Regions from separate parts of the Homo sapiens genome. Here all the other regions are linked to region 1. Evidence: promoter capture Hi-C in human tissues and cell types (Jung and others, 2019). All regions are on one chromosome and are shown on one strand. The core of a region is centred on a gene start or on the middle of the fragment in contact, and the rest is flanking DNA. Distances in the headings are between cores, read along the strand shown.

Evidence for each region. Contacts are between HindIII fragments. The study calls those that stand out against the background at their distance.
Region 2: a contact is called between the fragment with the promoter of SLC16A8 here and a fragment that was not itself captured in region 1, in 1 of the 25 tissues and cell types used here (dorsolateral prefrontal cortex).
Region 3: the fragment with the promoter of C22orf23 here is called in contact with a fragment that was not itself captured in region 1 in 1 of the 25 tissues and cell types used here (dorsolateral prefrontal cortex).

The regions. Positions count from the first base shown.
Region 1 is chr22:38,687,298-38,691,291 of GRCh38, reverse strand. JOSD1 (Josephin domain containing 1) reads left to right here. Exons shown (of 5, transcript NM_001360236.2): 3 at 1,868-1,996; 4 at 2,163-2,357; 5 at 3,291-3,994. The coding sequence ends at 3,390. Among named protein-coding and RNA genes, the nearest start is that of TOMM22, 7.3 kb to the right of the region's middle. The HindIII fragment of the contact is 8,429 bases long and covers 1-3,994 here.
Region 2 is chr22:38,081,969-38,086,048 of GRCh38, reverse strand. SLC16A8 (solute carrier family 16 member 8) reads left to right here and starts at 1,865. Exons shown (of 6, transcript NM_013356.3): 1 at 1,865-2,061; 2 at 2,688-3,007; 3 at 3,168-3,389; 4 at 4,017-4,080. The coding sequence starts at 3,176. It overlaps BAIAP2L2 (BAR/IMD domain containing adaptor protein 2 like 2), which reads left to right. Exons shown (of 14, transcript NM_025045.6): 13 at 317-363; 14 at 674-1,149. The coding sequence ends at 749. RefSeq lists enhancers at 1-39, 1,600-2,381 and a silencer at 3,357-3,406. The HindIII fragment of the contact is 9,296 bases long and covers 1-4,080 here.
Region 3 is chr22:37,951,514-37,955,793 of GRCh38, reverse strand. C22orf23 (chromosome 22 open reading frame 23) reads left to right here and starts at 2,193. Exons shown (of 7, transcript NM_032561.5): 1 at 2,193-2,346; 2 at 2,636-2,747; 3 at 4,272-4,280. The coding sequence starts at 2,645. POLR2F (RNA polymerase II, I and III subunit F) reads right to left here and starts at 2,095. Exons shown (of 5, transcript NM_021974.5): 1 at 1,987-2,095. The coding sequence starts at 2,006. RefSeq lists a silencer at 1,860-1,929. The HindIII fragment of the contact is 12,825 bases long and covers 1-4,280 here.

The sequences.
Region 1 (3,994 bases), core at 923-3,422:
CCTGGCTCAGGTGATCTTCCCACCTCAGCCTCCCGAGTAGCTGGGACCATAGGCACATGCCACCATGCCCGCCTAATTTTTGTATTTTTTGCAGAGACAGTGTTTTGCCATGTTGCCCAAGCTGGTCTCTAACTCCCAGGCTCAAGCGATACTCCCACCTTGGCCTCCCAAAGTGCTGGGATTGCAGGTGTGAGCCACCACTCCCGGCCAGGAGCATGGGGTTTTGTTTTGTTTTGTTTGTTGGTTTGTTTTTTGAGACGGAGTCTCACTCTGTCACCCAGGCTGGATGCAGTGGTGACATCCAGCCTCTGCCTCCTATGTTCGGCTCACTGCAGCCTCTGCCTCCTACGTTCAAGCAGTTAGCTGCCTCAGTCTCCTGAGTAGTTGAGACTACAGGCGTGCACCACCACGCCTGGCTAATTTTTGTATTTTTAGTAGAGACGGGGTTTCACCATGTTACCCAGGCTGGTCTTGAACTCCTGACCTCAAGTGATCTGCCCACCTCAGCCTCCCAGAGTGCCGGAATTACAAGCATGAGCCACCGCGCCTGGCCAGGAGTATGTTTTATATTTGAAAAATACCAGTATTGCTGAGTTCAGTGGCTCACACCTGTAATCCCAGCACTTTGGGAGGCTGAGGCGGGTGGATCACAAGGTTAGGAGTTCGAGACCAACCAGCCTGGCCAACGTAGTGAAACCCCATCTCAACTAAAAATACAAAAATTAGGTGGGCGTGGTGGCGGGTGCCTGTAATCCCAGCTACTTGGGAGGCTAAGGCAAGAGAATCACTTGAACGCAGGAGACGGAGGTTGCAGTGGGCTGAGATCGCGCCATCACACTCCAGCCTGGGCGACAGAGCAAGACTCCGACTCAAAAAAAAAAGAAAGAAAAAAAATACCAGTATTTCTGCTGTGCACAGAAAAATTTTAAAAATACAAGATTTCTTAAGTTTTTTAGAGTTGACATCCTTGGCCTAACGTCTTGATTCTTTTCTGGAGATGGCATGTAGTAGCCTCTTGATCATGCACTTTATGTCCTGAGGAACTCGCCACACTTCCCTTTCTCCCCTTCACACGAAGCCCAAAGGTATGCCCCTTGAACCCTTCCTTCAAAATGGCCTTTCCCCAGCTCCTGGCCTGACAAGTTTATGAAGGTAAAATAATAGAATTAGAAATGCCTTCAGCATGGACCTTGTCTTAAAATACAGACTGGCTAAAGAAACCTGGAAGTAAATGGCTTCAAGCTGGGTGGGCAAACCAGTGCTGCAGCTGAGTTTTGTTTGCCTGGCACAAATTTTTTTTCAGTTGATTTATTGGGTATTTTAAGAAAAATTTATTCAAGTACTACACACACACACACACACACACACACACACACACAGAATGCCTTTAGGTGGGTCGTGCATTCCAGTAGGCCTCACTACTTTTTATTGCCTTATATCCAACCCCAGTTTATACATTTATGTCACCTGTCTAGGCTCCTGTATGCCTTTGAGTATTTAATGATTAATGATTACCAAGTTTGCAGGCCTTAACTAGAAAGCAGGAGTGACACCAGTTACTATCCATGCAAATGAAAAGATTGAATCCTATTTTCCAATGTTAAAAAAAAAAAAGGCTTGCATGAGGCAGGAAAATCAGTATCAGGAGGAAGAGCAGAAAGGCTGCAGGAGGCTGGGATTTCATAAGTGAGTCACCTTCATGGAACACTTACAAAATACTTAGGTAGAAGCTGGGGAAATTGCACTTGAATGTGGGGAAACTAACTTCCAGGGGCAGTGATGTAAAGTGCTCTCCATCCCTGGTAGTGCGGGGTCAGGGGGTTCAGGCATCCAGCAAGTCTCAGCCCTCCTCTTTTCACATTGGTAGGTTGTCTCCAAACACCATGGTGACACCTCACAAGAAGAGCATGCTGGGAAATGGCAACTACGATGTGAATGTCATTATGGCAGCACTTCAGACCAAAGGCTATGAAGCTGTTTGGTGGGACAAGCGCAGGTAATCTGAATCAGGCTTGACTTGATGGAGAACAGCACGGTTGTGGTATAAGCTTTTAGTACTTGGGCTCATGGCATGAGTGGGGAGGTAGCCAGTTGTGGTATTACAGCCAGGGAACCTTGGAAAATGGGCTGCATCAGAGCCTGCCACCATTTCTCCCCTGCAGGGATGTCGGTGTCATTGCCCTCACTAACGTCATGGGCTTCATCATGAATCTGCCCTCCAGCCTATGCTGGGGTCCACTGAAACTGCCCCTCAAAAGGCAGCACTGGATCTGTGTTCGAGAGGTGGGAGGGGCCTACTACAACCTCGACTCCAAACTCAAGATGCCCGAGTGGATTGGAGGCGAGAGCGAGCTCAGGTAATCGGCACCTTTTGTGACTAAGTTGCTAGGCTGCTTCATTTCTTAGGTTGGGGACACTGAGCTCATCTCTGGTTATTTGACAAAGGAAATGAAATTCCTGTGCCCTTGGATTCTCTCCCTGCCTTAGAATCATAGTGTCTCGGACCTGACCTTAATCTTCAATGGCGCATCAGTACTTTTAAGTCCTTTTGGTAGGGAAGATGCCCAGCCTGGGATACCAGCCTTCTAGTCTGGTGGGGCTGGCATTGTAACGTTCTCTCTATTTAAGACAACTGAGACAGTGTAGTTGCCAGTTCATAGAAAGGAAGACAAACATGCAGGCCAGGGAGCACTGAATTTCCCCAGGACCAAAGAACATTTGTAAAAGTTCTTTAGAGGCGATTGCTCACGCCTGTAATCTCAGCACTTTGGGAGGCCAAGGCGGGTGGATCACCTGAGGTCAGGAGTTCGAGACCAGCCTGACCAACACGGTGAAACTCTGTCTCTACTAAAAATACAAAAATTAGCCAGGCGTGGTGGCGGACGCCTGTAATCCCAGCTGGTCAGGAGGCTGAGGCAGGAGAATCACTTGAACCTGGGAGGCAGAGGTTGCAGTGAGCCGAGATCATGCCATTGCACTCCAGCCCAGGCGACAAGAGCGAAACTCCGTCTCCAAACAAACCAAGAAAAAGTCCTTTATATACTTTGGGTACTGTTATTCACAGATCCAGCTACTCTTGGCAGTAACTACAAGGATGAGCAAAATTCAGGTTGGAATTTTAACTGGACAGATTGGAGGGTAACCAAATGTGGAACCCTCCAAAACCAGATGACTACAGGGATGTGTTTTGGACTGCCGAGGGTAGAGTGAGGTTTCAGGTGACTTTGTGGTCCTGAGACTGGAATTTGCAACTTGCCAGCATTTCATTTTCTCTATCTCTTTTTCCATAGGAAGTTTCTAAAACATCATTTGCGAGGAAAGAACTGTGAACTCCTGCTGGTGGTACCAGAAGAGGTAGAGGCTCATCAGAGTTGGAGGACCGATGTGTAACAGTTCTGCCCAACCTCCCTCTCGCCTCAGCCCCTTCAGTCCTCTGTGACGTGCTGTGGCCTCTACAGTGGGTCTGCCCTTGCCACTTCCCCAAACATCTCATCAAGTTTTTCCCCTTCAGATCTGACAGTGCAATAGGACAGACGTGTGGACTGTTATAAGAACTACTCAGTGTTTTGTTCCTGGGCAAGGAAGGTAGGAGTTCTGTGCACTTAAGGCCAGTGGTCACAAACCCTTGTTTTATTTAAGAGACAGAGGAGAAAGTGGAGCGGGGAGGGAATCCTAGCTTATTTTCCCTTTTCTATGAGGACTTGACACAGGTTCTGCTGAGTTGTCACTGCTGCTCCAGACTCACCTAGAGATGCTGCCTCCACTTTCCATCCTGTCTGGGTCTGAAAACAGTGGGTCTGCAGATAGTGCCCACAAACCCCATGTGACTGGTTTGAAGGACCCAGAGCATAAAGGTCTCTCAGGAAACCATGTCCAAAACCCTAGCAGCGGTACAGCATGCTGTCTCCAACCCTTATCCCCAGGTTTAAGGGTGGTTTATGGCCATACGTGGAGGTTTTTTGTTGTTGTTTTTGAGACTGAGTTTCACTCTTGT
Region 2 (4,080 bases), core at 616-3,115, 600 kb after region 1:
GGGTGTGGCCTGGGGCTAGCCAGTAGGACGGGGCTGGGGGAGGCCAGGGAGGGCATCTCCGATGGAGCCACCCCGGTCTTATCCTGGGGGCGTGGTTAGTCCTTGGAGGTGGTGCTCTGGCCTAGGGGTTTCTCACTTCTGCAACCCACAGAATTCTGGGCTTCAGAACGTCAGGGTCTCATTTTCCAGGAGCCTGGCATGGCAGGGGCTCTCTGGCCCAGTCCTCTGCCCTTGGGCATGGGGAGAGGGAGGGGAGGAGCAAGGGATTGCTTGCCCCTCTCCCCACCAAACCAGCCCTTCCCCACCCCCACTGCAGAAACTGATGTCCTCAGAGCAGTACCCACCACAGGAGCTCTTCCCGAGGTGAGTCCTCACATGGGGGCCCAAACAGTGAGGAGGGTGGCAGGTGCGGCGGCACACACTTGTAGTCCCAGCTACTAGGGAGACTGGGGCAGGAGGATCTCTTGATTCCAACAGTTCAACATCAGCTTGAGCAACACTGTGAGACCCTATCTCTTAAAAGAAAAAAAAAGATGAAGCGGGGCAAGGAGTGGATGGAGACCAAATAGGGGCAGGAGGCAGGACCCAGCTCAGTTGCCCAGCTGCCTTCCTGAGCCATGGCCAGGTGGGGATCATCTGCCCTTCTCACCCCATTCTCTCTCTCCTCCTACAGGGGCACAAATCCTTTTGCCACTGTCAAGCTTCGTCCCACCATCACCAATGACCGCTCAGCACCCCTCATCCGCTGAGGCGGGGTCCGAGGTCGTACCCCACAGTGCACCTGCCCAGGGGCTGTTCAGAGCTGGCAATGGCAGCGACAGCAGCAACAGCAGCAGATCCAAGAAGCGGGTCCCTGAGACGGGGGGTGGCTGCCCTCCCCAGACCACCCCGGCAGCCTGAGCAGCTCCAAAGCACTGGCTTGGGGTCCGAGACCTTCAAAGTAAAGCAGGCGGAATGGGGGGACAGGACAATTTCTCCCCCTCCAGGGGCTCCAGGACTCTCCCTGGGGGGCCCACCTCTTGCCCCCTAACCTCTTTCCCCCTTTTCTGCCCCCGTGGGGAGGAGCCCCTTGTACCTGCTCCGTGCCCAACACATGCCCTCTCTGTACATCTTTTGTAAATGATGAGAAATAAAGGAAGTGGACGCAAAGTGATGCGGCAGCAGGACTGGTGGTGTCTTATTTGGGGGACAGGGCAGGGGGTGAGGGATAGAGACTCCCCCATTGGAGAATGGGGTCTAGGGGGTACTGAGGTCCTGGCTGTTCCCCGGGAAGCCATCTCACTCCCAGCCCCTTGTTTGTTTGTTTGGAGAACTCTTTAGGGCTGCCCCAAAGCCCTCGCGCTGCAGCCCCCATCTCCACCTGCTCTCATTTCGACCTGTGGGTTTCCTAGGAAGTAGCGGCTGCTCGGGTCAGGGGAGAGGTGGCAGTGGCCAAGGGCTGGGACCACCAGCAAGCTGCCCTCAGGCGGCCTGGACACAGCACCCTTTGTTTTGGCCCCTCCCCCCCCCACATTCCCAGGCACAGGCGTGGATTAGCTTCATTCTAGAGAAAGCTGCCAGCCCCTCCTGGAATGTGGCCTGGGGCGGGGGGTTGGGGCGGGGGCAGATGAGGCACTGAGGTGATTAGAACCGTTGGGGTCTCTTCAGGGCAGGGCTGTGCCCCCAGCACCAGACTAGGACCCCCTGGGCAAGGTCTCTGTGTCTACCACCCCAGGCTCCAGGAGGCACAGGGATTCTCTTCCTCCCTCCTGGACTGGCTTGGGACAGGGAGCCCACCGCCGAGGCCCAGCCTGGCCTGGGGCTCCCAGTCTCTTCTCCCCTCCTGGACAAAAGCCTCTTAGCAGGGGTGAGGTGTGGTGGGGGCACACACTCTAAGCTCCAGGCCTGGGGCAGGGAGCGTCAGGCGGGAGTCGGCCAGAGGCTCAGCCCAGGCTGGTGGGAAGCTGGGGTGTCTGGCAGCCCCCATCCGGGTAAGCTTCACCGGGAGCTGCGGCGGCGGCCCCTCCCTGCAGGCCTCAGGAGATGTGAGGCTGGACCCCCAAACCCACGAGGCAGGCTCAGGTGAGTGTGATGTGAGGGCTGCCTGGGATCACCCTCCTGTCTCCACCTTCAAGTGGCTGCCCCTGTGACAAGAGGACAACAGGCAGGAAAAGCCACAACCTGGTCCTAGTGGAGGAGGGGCAGAGTCCCGGATACCCTGGGGGTGGTGGCACTGCCCAGTGCCAGGAGGGACACTCCAGGCAGGAGGGCAGGAGGCTATCCCCAGCCCCCGGCTCCTGGTGCACCTGTCTCTGAGTACACCCTCCTCATCTGTTATGGGGGCGCTTGTAACTGCTGTGAGGGCCCCGGGTGGAGCCCCAGGAATGAGACAGGCTTTGGAGCCATTCTTTTCATATAGAGGGTTTGAGGTTTGGAGGGCAGAAGGCCACTCTCTCAGTGCTGCTAAGGTTCCTACCTGTCTGGCAGAAGCCAGAGACCTGACTCCTCTCCCGCAAGATTCCCAGCTGGCCTCGGGGTGATCAATCACCCATCTTACATCGGAGGAAAGGGAGGTTGGGAGAGGGGAGGCGACCGGCCCAAGTCAGGGAGGGAATCCATGGCTGAGCTGAGATGCATGGGAACTCAGCTCCCCTGGCTGATATCTGTTGAAAGTGGCTTTTGTCCCCTTAATGTTCTAATGACAATAGTCATTTGTGATCACTGAGAAACATTAGGAACATGGCGGAAGGCTAAAGAGGAAAATCACGCACAGCGGCCCTTTGCAGCCGGCATCTGCCCCTCTGCTGTTTGTTCTGTTGTCCCGAGACCCTCACGCGTACGGGGCGACTTTGGTGCTGGACGCCCACCTCCAGGCACATACCTGCTCCACTTCCCGACGCCTTCCACCTGAGGCCCTGAGGGGCCAGCAGTTGTCCTTCAGAGGGAGCCTGCAGAGGTGCAGAGTCAGGTGGGACCCGTCGTCCTCCCCTCGTCCTTCAGCGCCCTTTGCAGGAGAAGGAGACTTGGGGTGAGAGTCCTACCTCCGTTTCCCCTTTTGGTTCCCAGACCTGAGCCACCCTCACGTGGGTAGCCCTGTGCCTCAGTTTCCCCATGCTTCGTCTCCATCCCCCTCCTTCTCTAGGCTGCTGGCCCAGCCCCTCCCTCTTGTCCCCGCCCCCTCCCAACAGAGGCAGCGATGGGCGCTGGCGGCCCCCGGCGGGGCGAGGGCCCCCCAGACGGCGGCTGGGGCTGGGTGGTGCTGGGCGCCTGCTTTGTGGTCACCGGCTTCGCCTACGGCTTCCCCAAAGCCGTGAGCGTCTTCTTCCGCGCGCTCATGCGCGACTTCGACGCCGGCTACAGCGACACGGCCTGGGTGTCCTCCATCATGCTAGCCATGCTCTACGGCACGGGTCAGTGTCCCCGCCCGGCCCTCCGCCTCCCCGGGACCCCTGGGATCCGGAACCAGGAGACACCCGAGCCCCTGAGCATCCCCCTGACCCTCGGGGTGGCCCCCGAAGTCCCTTCCTGCCTGTGGGAACCCTGGCACCAGAAAGAGGGGAAGAGAGGGCGGGAGGGAGACAGCGGCCAGAGGCGGGGCCGGCCCAGGGGGCTGCCCTGCGAGCTCAGAGGGCCCCTTCTAAGACCACACCCGCCCATTGTAGAGGCAGGAAAGCTGAGAGCCACAGAAGCACTCCCCCTCCCCGCAGCCCTGACCTGTAGGTGGGGGCTTGCTGGAGTTCCCATCCTGGGAGGCGGGGCTGCGGAGGAATCCCAGTCTGTGCCAGGGCGGGACTTGGAGGCTGTGAAGGTTAAAGGGGTGCGGAAGCCCCCGCTCCGCTTGGGGTTTGGGTTCGCAGGATGGGGTGCTCTGGGCCTTGCCCTCGCAGGATGCTGTCTCTTTGGCCTGTCCCCTCCAAGCTGTGTGACCTTGGCCAGACACTGCCCTCCTCTCTGTGTCCCTGAGCCGGAGGTGACCTTATTCCTTAGAGGACTCAAGCCATCCCGGGACCCGGGTGGTGACCCTGCCCTGCCCACAGGCCCCGTGTCCAGCATCCTCGTGACCCGCTTTGGCTGTCGCCCGGTGATGCTGGCGGGTGGGCT
Region 3 (4,280 bases), core at 944-3,443, 740 kb after region 1:
CAAGAATTGCTTGAACCCGAGAGGCGGAGGGTGCACTGAGCCACGGTCACCCCACTGCACTCCAGCCTGGGTGACACAGCGAGACTCCTTCTCAAAAAATAAAAAATAATAATAAGAAGAAGAAGTAAATCCGACTTTTGTTCCATTTTACCCCTTCAATTTTTCCCCATCTGCCCCCAAATATTGCTAGTACTCATTCATCATCACTGTTTCCCTCTCTACTGGATCATTCCCATCAGCATTTTTTTTTTTTTTGAGACAAAGTCTCGCTCTGTTGTCCAGGATGGAGTGCAATGGCGTGATCTTGGCTCACTGCAACCTCTGCCTCCTGGGTTCAAGCAATTCTCCTGTCTCAGCCTCCCGAGTAGCTGGGATTATAGGCACACGCCACCATGCCCAGCTAATTTTTGTATTTTTAGTAAAGATGGGGTTTCACCATGTTGACCAGGCTGGTCTCGAACTCCTGGCCTCAGGTGATCCACCCTCCTCGGCCTCCCAAAGTGCTGGGATTAGAGGTGTAAGCCACAGCACCCGGCCCCATCAGCATTTCAACATGTGCTTTTCCTCATCTAAAAAAAAAAAAAAAAAAACCCTTATTTCTCTTCTCTCTCCCCCTATAGCCCTAATTCCATGGTGTCCTTTGAAGCAAAAATGTGTGAAAGAGCTGTCCACCCTCACTATCTTCCTCTCTTCCCATTTTGTCATAATCTCACTCCAAAAAGCCTTTCACCCCAACAGCTCCATCAAAACCACTTTCCAAGCTCATTAATGATCTCCACGTTGCTAAATCCAATGGCCAACTCTCCTTCTCATTTAGCCTGATCTATCAGCTGGCACATTAGGCCACTTGCTCTCCTCACTTGACTCCAAGGACACCTCACCCTCTTGGTGTTCCCCCACCTCCCCGGCTTCTCTTTTCCCCCAAGCACTCAATGTCCAAATGCCCTAATGCTCAGCCACGGGTCATCTCCTCTTCTCTACTGACACTCACTGGGAATGGGGTAGCAATCCCACACGTTTCTTATTTTTATCTTCAGACTAGCTCTCTTTGCACCCACATATCCCACAGGTAATTTTTGGGCTCTATCTTTAAAATAGTAATATATCCAGAATTCAAAACCAGTTCTCACCACCTCTACTCCTACCACCCTACTATAAGCTACTGACTTCTCTCATCTAGATTACTACAAGCAGGCCGGGCACGGTGGCTCACGCCTGTGATCCCAGCACTTTGGGAGGCCGAGGCGGGTGGATCACAAGCTCAGGAGTTCGAGGCCAGTCTGGCCAACATGGTGAAACCCGTCTCTACTAAAACTACAAGCAATTAGCAAGGCGTGGTGGTGCACGCCCATAATCCCAGCTAGTCGGGAGGCTGAGGCAGGAGAATCCCTTGAACCCCGGAGGTGGAGGCTGCAGTGAGCCGAGATCGCGCCACTGCACTCCAGCCTGGGCGACAGAGCAAGACTCTGTTTCAAAAAAAAAAAAAAATTACTGCAAAGGACCGTCCCAGACTTTTATTTAATGCCACCCGGTGGAGCTGCCCCAGACCCTCCTCTGGAGTACTCCTATACTACATACGTCTAGAACTGGGGAAGCTCACGCGACCACCGTTACCTGCTTGCTTGCTTACTTATGGGCCTGTGACCCCTTTTCTAGAAAGTGAGCACGTGGAGAGGCAGGGACGATTGTTCATTCACCTCAATATTCCCACTGCATGATACAGAGCCCGGCTCGCTGGAACATTTGCTGAAGGACACCTTTTCTACGGATCCCCTCTGGACCCTCGAGCCTGGGCCCTCCTGTGCCTCCAGCCGGGGCTGTGCTCCTGGGTCGCCCGCCCTTCCCTTCCTCGGCTCCGCCGGCCCCCTCAGGACCCCAGTCCCCTCAGACATTGCCCCTAGACGCCAGGCTCCTCAGCCGACCCAAGCCTTGCCTCATCCGCCCCTTCCAAGGTTGCCGCAAAGGCCACTCCGCTCCCGCACTCACTTGTCCTCGTTGTCTGACATGACACCCTCGCCTCAGCGACCCCGCTGCGCCCCGGTCCCGCGCGGAGACCCGCAAACAGCGACACTACGACTCGCGCGGCTCCTAGCTTATCTTGCGCCTGCGCCGTAACCCAGAGGAAATCACTTCCGGGAGGCAGGACAGAGCGGGGAAAGTGCGCATGCGCTGACTGGTGTGTGCGCGTTTCTATAGTAGCGAGAGGCGCTAGCTGCCAGCTCCAGCAGCCCAGATCGCGCAGTATTTCTGCGTGGCACCGGTGCGGATGCGGCTGTAAAGCAGTGGTCACCGCCTCCGGGAGCCCACTTCTATGTGGAGAGGGGAGCACCCAGAGAGGGTCTTAGGGTGAAATTTCAATTTTGGCATATCACTCAGTGGGTACTGTTGTGACCATGGCTGTGTTAACACTCCCTCCCGAGGAGACTTCCCTGCCACAGGCGCTGGGTCAGAATGAGGACTGTGTGTGTGTATCTGTGTGTCTGGATGGGAGGTTTGGGCACTGTCGCAATATTAACTGGCGGCATCATTCTCTGGCTCGATCCCCGCTTCCAGACTTCTGGGGGTGTTGGGCGTCGGGGAACAGAGATTAGGGACAGGAGACAGGGGGTGTGTCATTGCGTCTTTCCCTCCTCAGAGTCCTCCCATGGCTTCACAGAAGCAGATGGAGGTAGTGACCAAAGGAACTGGGTTCCGGCGCCGCCCCAAGACCATCACTTACACCCCGGGGACCTGCGAGCTGCTCAGAGGTCAGTCCGTTAAAGCAGCGATCCCAGCCTTTTTGGCACCAGGGACCGGTTTCGTGGAAGACAATTTTTCCACTGACGGAGGTGTGGGGAATGGTTTCGGGATGAAACTGTTCCACCTCAGATCATCAGGTATTAGTTAGATTCTCATAAGGAGCGTGCAACCTAGATCCCTCGCGTGCGCAGTTCACAATAGGGTTCGCGCTCCTATGAGAATCTAAGGCCGTCACTGACCTGAAAGGAGGCGGTGAGGCTCGCTAGCCTGCCGCTCACCTCCTGCTGTGCGGCCCGGTTCCTAACAGGCCAGGGACTGGTACCAGTCCACGGACGGAGGGTTGGGGACCCCTGAGTTAAAGGATGAGAGAAGAATGGTGGTAGTTACCCTCTGTAACTCAGTTCCCCCGTACCTGACCTGTGGCTTAGCACTATTTTCCTTTACAGATAAGGAGCCTGGGGTTCAGAAAGCTTCAAAATTCTACTGCATATGCCTTATTCGGGGGCGGGGCGGGGCGGGGGGGAGGGGAAGGTTCAAGGTGCTACACCTTGCCAAAAGTCAAAGAACTAAAATTTTTAGAGTAGTTAACTCCTATGCATCCTTTAGATCACACTTTCAACTTTCCCGAGGAAGACTTCTGCTCCTCACCACCACAGTAGGATCAACTGTTATGTGCCCTCACACATTTTCCTTCACTGGGCTTAGCACAAGCTGTAGTCAGTTATTTGGTGTCCCATCTATCCCTCCAGATCATGAATTTCATCAGGCAGGAACCGTGCCTGTTTCGGCCCACAATTGTAGCTCCAGCCCCTGAAACATGATGAACAAGTATTCATGTGTTCTTTTACTCAACAACTTTTTTGTTTTTTTCCAACAACAACATTTTTAAGTCTACCATGTGCCTTAGACTCTGTTTTAGGTGCTGGGGATACAGCAGTGAAAGAAAATGAGGTGGCTCAAACCGGTAATCCCAGCACTTTGGGAGGCCAAGGTGGGCAGATCACCTGAGGTTAGGAGTTCACGACCAGCCTGACCAACATGGAGAAACCCAGTCTCTACTAAAAGTACAAAATTAGCCGGGCGTGGTGGCGCATGTCTGTAATCCCAGCTACTTGGGAGGCTGAGGCAGGAGAATTCCTTGAACCCAGGAGGTGGAGATTGCAGTGAGCTGAGGTCGCGCCACTGCACTCCAGCCTGGGCAACAAGATGGAAGCTCCATCTCAAAAAAAAAAAAAAAAAAAAAAAAAAAAAAAAAAAGAGAAAGAGGAAAAAATATTTAACAGAGGGCAGAAATTTTATTAAACCAGCAAAAATTCTTATCATACAGCTAATATAGAAGGATAACAATAAAATAAAATATATAGAATTTTAGGTGGTCGTAAGTGCTATAGAAAAAACGAAGCAGGAAAGATAGAGAAGGCATGCTCAGTGCAGAATGGGGCTAGGATGTAGGGTTTTAAATTTCAGTAGGGTGTCAGGTGAAGGCATCCGCCTGCAGCCCAAGAGGCCTCATAGAATGCTTTGTCGTGCAGTGATGATGA